Linked DNA regions of Homo sapiens: region 1 is linked to region 2. The links are contacts of gene promoters, found by promoter capture Hi-C in human tissues and cell types (Jung and others, 2019). All regions are on one chromosome and are shown on one strand. Each heading gives the region's core, a stretch centred on a gene start or on the middle of the fragment in contact. The rest is flanking DNA. Distances are from core to core; before and after follow the strand shown. Region 1 overlaps PGPEP1L (pyroglutamyl-peptidase I like). Region 2 holds the start of IGF1R (insulin like growth factor 1 receptor).

Region 1 (3,503 bases), core at 41-2,540, 350 kb before region 2:
TTTTAATCTCACTATTTTCTATAACTGCCCTTTTTTTTTTCTGGCTGTTTCCAAGGGCAGCTAAAGTCTTATTTATTCTGAAGGATTTGGTTGAATCAGAGGACACCATGGGCTTTTTGGGACGTTCTGTCCAAAACTGTTTCATTCCCTCAGAAAGTTTTTACTTCCTCATGAGCCAACCCTGTTTGTGGGTCTAGACCCAGATGTTCAGGAATTGCAAAGGTATAATTCAAGTTTCTCTCCAGAACTGGTTCCTAGTCTAAAGGCCTGAGGTCCAGGGAGCTGGGTTCTCAGAGACTGACATTTAGTCACAGCCCTTTCCTCATCAAAGAATATGAATGACTTGAGAAATATGTCACAGGAATCAGAGGTGGAAATGTCACAGGAATCAGAGGTGGAACTGAAAACCTCAGCTGTACTCCGGGATAAAGCTGAGTTAGAGAATTCCACTTGTATCTGCAGCCCACTTAATTGAGCACCTGACTCCATCACAGGCATATCTGGCACTGGCTAGTCTCCCACACAGGAGGCCACACACTTTTTAAAACTTTTTATTTTGAAATAAATATAGGAATTTGCCAAGAAGTGTACAGAGGTTCCCTGTACCCTTTACCCAGCCTCTCCTGATATTGACATATTAACATTTTCAATATAAAAGCCAGGATATTGACATTGGTATAATTCAAAATTTGTGCTTGCAGTATGTGTGCGTGTGTGTGTGTAATTTCAGCTAGTGTAGCTTCCTATCACCACCACCACAATCAAGATACCTAGCAGTACCATCACCACAAAGCTCACTCGTGCTAGCTCTTTACAGCCACACCCACCCGCTTCCTCCCATCTCAAACACCTGGCAACCATTAGTCTGTTCTCCATCTGTATAATCATTTTATTTTACAAATATTTTATGTAGGCTGGGTACAATGACTCACACCTGTAATCCCAGCACTTTGGGAGGTTGAGATGGGCAGATCACCTGAGACCAGGAGTTCGAGGGCAGCCTGGGAAACCTGGCAAAAATACAAAAAATTAATCAGACATGGTGGCATGCACCTGTGGTCCCAGCTACTCGGGAGGCTGACGTGGAAGGATCACTTGAGCCCAGGAGATGGAAGCTGCAGTAAGCTATGATCGTGGTACTACACTCCAGCCTGCATGACAGAGTGAGATCCTGTCTGAAAATAAAAATAGGGCCAGGTGCGATGGCTTATGCCTATAATCCCAGCACTTTGAGAAGCCCAGAGGGGTGGATCACTTAGGGCAGGAGTTCGAGACCAGCCTGGCCAACATAGTGAAACCCCATCTCTACTAAAAATACAAAAATTAGCTGGGCATGGTGATGGGCACCTGTAACCCCAGCTACTTAGGAGGCTGAGGCAGGAGAATTGCTTGAACCCAGGAGGCGGAGGTTGCAGTGAGCTGAGATCACACCACTGCACTCCAGCCTACGTGACAGGGTGAGACTCTGTCTCAAAAAGCAAACAAGCAAAAATAAAAAACACAAATATATAAATGAAATCATACAGTACATGTCCTTTTGAGATTGGTTCTTTTTCACTTGGAGTAATTTAAGGTTCATCCAGGTTGTATGTATCAATAGTCCATTATAAAAAGTTTTTAAACTACTTCATTGAGATATAATCCACATGCTATACCATTTACTCATTTAAAGCGAGTAACATTCAGTGGCTCAGTATAGTCACGAAGTTACATATTCATCACTACAGTCAATTTTAGAACATTTTCAGCACCCCAGAAAGAAACCCCACACCCCTTAGCTTTCACCACTCACGTCCCCCCACAACACACATACCCAGCTTCTGGCAACCACTAATATACTTTGTCCCTATAGATGTGCCTCTTCTGACATTTCATATAAATGGAATCATTTTACATGTGGTCCTTTGCCTCTGGCTTCTTTCATTTAGCATGTTTTCAAGGTTGAGCCACGTGGTAGTGTGTCCAGAATTGGTGGGTTGTTGGTCTCACTGACTTCAAGAATGAAGCCGCGGACTCTCGTGGTGAGTGTTACAGTTCTTAAAGGCGGCGTGTCCAGAGTTTATTTCTTGACTGATGTTTGGATGTGTTCAGAGTTTCTTCCTTCTGGTGGGTTCATGGTCTTGCTGGCTCAGGAGTGAAGCTGCGGACCTTTGGAGTGAGTGTTACAGCTCTTAAGGCAGCGTGTCTGGAGTTCATTCCTCCCAGTGGGTTCGTGGTCTCGCTGGTTTCAGGAGTGAAACTGGAGACCTTTGTGGTGAGTTACAGCTCATAAAGGCAGTGTGGACCCAAAGAATGAGCAGCAGCAAGATTGATTGTAAAGAGCGAAAGAACAAAGCTTCCACAGTGTGGAAGGGGACCCGAGTGGGTTGCCACTGTTGGCTCCCGCAGCCTGCTTTTTTTTCTCTTATCTGGCCCCACCCACATCCTGCTGATTGGTCCATTTTACAGAGAACTGATTGGTCCATTTTGACAGGGTGCTGATTGGTGTGTTTATAATCCCTGAGTTAGACACAAAAGTTCCCCACTAGATTAGTTAGATACAGAGTGTGGATACAAAGGTTCTCCAAGTCCCCACCAGAGTAGCTAGATACAGAGCGTCGATTGGTGCATTCACAAACCCTGAGCTAGACACAGGGTGCTGATTGGTGTGTTTACAAACCTTGAGCTAGATACAGAGTGCCGATTGGTGTATTTACAATCCCTTAGCTAGAAATAAAGGTTCTCCATCCCCACCAGACTCAGGAGCCCAGCTGGCTTTACCCTGTGGATCCCGCACTGGGGCCGTAGGTGGAGCTGCCTGCCAGTCCTGTGCCATGTGCCCGCACTCCTCAGCCCTTGGGGTGGTCGATGGGACTGGGCGCCGTGGAGCAGGGGGCCAGCTTGTCTGGGAGGCTCGTTGGCACAGGAGCCCACGGAGGAGGGGGAGCTCCGGCATGGCGGGCTGCAGGTCCTGAGCCCTGCCCGGCAGGAAGGCAGCTAAGGCCCAGCGAGAAGTTGAGCACAGCAGCTACTGGCCCAGATGCTAAGCCCCTCACTGCCTGGGGCCGGCGGGGCTGGCCGGCCACTCCCAGTGCGGGGCCCGCGGAGCCCACGCCCACCCGGAATTCGCGCTGGCCCGCAAGCACTGCACGCAGCCCCGGTTCCCGCCCGCGCCTCTCCCTCCACGCCTCCCTGCAAGCTGAGAGAGCTGGCGCTGGCCTTGGCCTGCCCAGAAAGGGGCTCCCACAGTGCAGTGGTGGGCTGGAGGGCTCCTCAAGTGTCACCAAAGTGGGAGCCCAGGCACAGGAGGGGCTGAGAGTGCGCAAGGGCTGCAAGGACTGCCAGCATGCTGTCACCTTCTCAGTAGCATGTATCAGTACTTCATTCCTTTTTATTGACAAATAATATTTCATTGTGTGGATTATACCACATTTTGTTTGCCATTCATCAGTTGATGGACATTTTGATGTTTCTACTTCTCTCTTCCACTGCTGAGTGTATTCTGTGAGATGGGTGAACCATGA
Region 2 (3,486 bases), core at 125-2,624:
GCCCTTCCCGCGCGGGGATGCGCGGAGCCAGGGCCCGCGGGGCTCCAGACGAACGAGCCCGGGTCCCGGGTCCGCTGCAGCCTCCCTCCCGGCAGAGCCGCCCTGCGCCCCACCCCGCCGCTCCCGAGCCCGGGGGCCCGACAGCTGCGACGGTGGCAACTCGGGTTTCGCAAACAGGGCGCAGCCCCTCGGAGGAAAAGTTCCCGCAGTGGCCGCGGGCGGCGGGCACATACTCACTTTCTCCACTCGTCGGCCAGAGCGAGAGCGCGGCGGAGAGAAACAGGAGCCCCCACAGCGAGGTCGGGGACCCTCCTCCGGAGCCAGACTTCATTCCTTTTATTTGGGATGAAATTCCCCTTTCTCAAAAAAAAAAAAAAAAAAAAAAAAGAAAAGAAAAGAAAAAAAGGAAATGAAAGGAAACAAGTCTCAAACTCAGTCTTCGCTCCCCCTCCAAAAACAAGGGCGAAGGAAACAATACTCCGAAGGCGGCGCCGCCGGGGCCCTCCGGGTGCGCGGACGGGGCGGGCGGCGCGGGGCGGCCCCTCAGCGCCGGCAGCAGCGGCCCAGGGCTCGGCGGAGTCGGGAACCCGAGGCGCGCCGGGGCGGGCTGTCGGCGTCGTCGGCCTCCATTTTCAAACCCGGAGAGGCAGGAAGGGGGGAAAACTGCAAAGAAAGGGGGCAAAGCCCAAATCTGCCTAGGCGAGGAAAAACAAGCCCGGCCCTGGCCGCGCGGGAGGCGGCCGGACGCCCGAGCTTCCGCCGCGGGAGGGCGCGACGCAGTTCGCAAGATCGCCCCGAAGTCCGGGTCACAGGCGAGGCCGGCGAGGGGCAGAAACGCGGAGTCAAAATGAATGAGCGGCTCCCCCTCCTCCTCCTCCTCCTGGCTCCGCTCGCCGCCGCCTCCTCCCTCAGCGCCGCCGCCGCCGCGGCGAGCTCCTTCCCAAATCCAGGACACACACAAAGCGGCGGGCCGGCCGCGCCGCGCTCAGCACTCCCGCCGCGCCGCCCGGCTCTGCGCCGCCGCCCGCCCCGCGCCGGCCCCCGCCCGGCCCCCGCCCGCCGCCGCCTGCTCTGCGCGGGGGCTCCGGCTCGCTGAAGGTCACAGCCGAGGCGAGGCGCGCCGTGGAGCTGCCCCCGCGCGGGAGGGGCGTGGAGGGCGCGGGGGGATCCGGGGAGCGGGGCCGAGGGTCTGCGAGCGCCGGCCGTGGGCAGGCTCGCTGGCGGCGTCCCTCTCGCTCTCCCGCCTCTCTCGAGTTCGCCTGGTGCGCTCGCTCCTCCTCGGGTTTTTTCCCTTTTTTTTTCCGCTCAGCGGAGTTAATGCTGGTAAACAAGAGCCCCAGCCTCGCCGCGCCGCCGCCGCCGCTGCCACACACTGGGGGCTCGCGCGCGCGCGCGCGCCCTGGCCCGCGCACACGCGCCCGCTCGCACACTCGAGCGGCCACCGCCGCAGCAGCGGCGCGCCGAGGGCCCGGCCCAGGCCGGCGCGCGCAAAAAACCGGAGCCCGGTTCCCCAAGACGTGCGGAGCGGAGCCCGGGCGTGGGGCGCGAGACTGCGAGGCGCCGCCCCCATCTCCCGCCCCACCGCCTCCCGCGCGCACACAGAGACACGCGCGCGTGCCCACCCGCTCCCGCCCCCACCGCACTGCGCCGGCCACCCCGCACGCGCCCTCCCCTCCCGCCCGACTCCAAAAACAATGCCCCCGCCGCCGGTCCGGTCTCGGCGGGGCAGGGGTGGGTAGCCAGGGAAAGGCTAGGCAGGGGAGGGGTGGGCAGGAGAGGGGAGGGGTGGGCGGGGAGTGCGGGGCTGGGAGAGGTTCATTGAAAACAACAACAGCGCGGCTGGAAAGCGCGTTTCCCCGGTTCTTGAAAAGCTTCATTGTTTCTTGCAGCTGTTGCAAAATAAATAAATGCGTGCATGCGGCATTTTTTTCGCTGCGTACTGGAAAGCCCGAACGTGGCGGAAGGGGCGCACCTGGGAGAAAGGGGACCCCCCCCCCAGGCTACTACGCCGGGCACTTTCACGCCAGGCTGGGGTGCCCGCGGCGTTGCGACCGTGGAGCCCGGAGTTTGGGGGCTCAGGGGGAGCGGAGGGGGAAGGGCGCGGCCCGTGTGGCTCGGCCCAGAGTGGCTCGAGGAGAGAGGACCCCGCCGCCCCTCGCGGGCCCCGCGCCCCGGAAGGGGGGCCCAGACAGGCAGCGCCGCGTGCCCCGGGCGCGTCCCCGCGGCGGCCGCCAGAGGGCGCGGCGGGCGCTGGGGAGGGCAGCCCGCGGAGAGTCGCCTCCCTCCCTCCGGGGGAGGAAATGTGGGGGCCCGGGCTGGGGGCCGACTCGGCTGGGTCGCGCTGGCGTGGCCTCCCGGACCAGCCGCCCGCCCTGAGCGCTCTCCGCGGCCTCGCGCAGCTCAGGGCTCCACCACGTGGGCGGCTGCGGGGAGCGGCCGGGGCGCGTGCACGCTGCGGGTCTCCGAAGCTCGGGGGGCGTGTCCGGGTCCCGGGGCGCCGAGGAGGGGGTGGAGGCTGGGGCCGGGAAGCCTCCCTTGGCCGCGGTCCCGACCCGGGAACACGCCGCATGCACTCGGGATCAGCGGCTACTGCGGAAACCCACCCGCACCTGTCTCGGGTCCTCCCAGGCACGTTCCTCTTGCTTCGTTTGCTACGTAAGTGACTGGAAACCAGTACCGACCCTAAGTCTCCGCGGTTGTTTTCTTGAATGTGCAGGAGGAGAGGTTTCCCCAAAGCGAGACTCCCCTAGGACTGCCATCTAATGAATAAATGCTGCGGAGACCAGGTCCTCAAAGAGGGAAACAGCCCAGCAGTGGCAGGAGAGAGGAGTTTGAAATACGTGGACTTTTACAAACAGTGATTGGACCATGTGTCGCCCTTAATGTGGTCCGGTTTCATGACTCAGGCTAATTGATGCCAGTAATAAATTTTTTTAAGATAGCTAATAAAAGAGTTGTGAATTGTCGAGATAAGAAGTGGTTGTCTCAAACAATCGGGTAGGATGGTAGAAGGGACCTGATGTAAAGGAAGGTAGTAGGTTTCTTTTACTCTCTAATTCTAAAATACTTCTGCATTAGAACGTGTATCCATCGTTCGTAAATAATTTTTTAAGAGCTGAAAACAAGTCAAAAGCTATCATAACGGAAACTTAGCCCTTTTTTTCTAAAGTTGTTTCCTAGATCATTTTCCTCCTTGGAAATTTCTAGCTCAATTCAGAGTCAGTTGTATAGAAAGAAAATAAACCTTGTTTTACCTAAGAAAGTTATTCATATGATGGGATGGTTTTGTTTAACTGAAATTCAGCTTGATTTTTAAATAAAGAGTTTCAGTTTTGGATGTTCCTAGATTTAACAGTGAAATAAATTTATTAGAATCTTAAAATGTATTATTTAAAAATTAGGCACTACACATGAAGAATTAAAGTCCAGTCTACTAATTTTTAAATATTTCTTAAGTTCTCTGCATGAGGTTGGTCTTGATTCCTG

Evidence for each region. The method cuts DNA at HindIII sites, captures the fragments that hold promoters and counts their contacts. A contact is called where the count stands out against the background at its distance.
Region 1: a fragment that was not itself captured here is called in contact with the fragment with the promoter of IGF1R in region 2 in 1 of the 25 tissues and cell types used here (mesendoderm cells).

Annotation. Positions count from the first base shown.
Region 1 is chr15:98,999,705-99,003,207 of GRCh38, reverse strand. All of the region lies in intron 2 of PGPEP1L (pyroglutamyl-peptidase I like), which reads left to right. Among named protein-coding and RNA genes, the nearest start is that of PGPEP1L, 6.3 kb to the left of the region's middle. The HindIII fragment of the contact is 3,326 bases long and covers 1-2,953 here.
Region 2 is chr15:98,646,427-98,649,912 of GRCh38, reverse strand. IGF1R (insulin like growth factor 1 receptor) reads right to left here and starts at 1,374. Exons shown (of 21, transcript NM_000875.5): 1 at 238-1,374. The coding sequence starts at 331. It overlaps IRAIN (IGF1R antisense imprinted non-protein coding RNA), which reads left to right. Exons shown (of 1, transcript NR_126453.2): 1 at 1-3,486. RefSeq lists silencers at 1,350-1,619, 1,990-2,049, 2,110-2,579, 2,590-2,639 and an enhancer at 2,651-3,272. The HindIII fragment of the contact is 5,713 bases long and covers 1-3,440 here.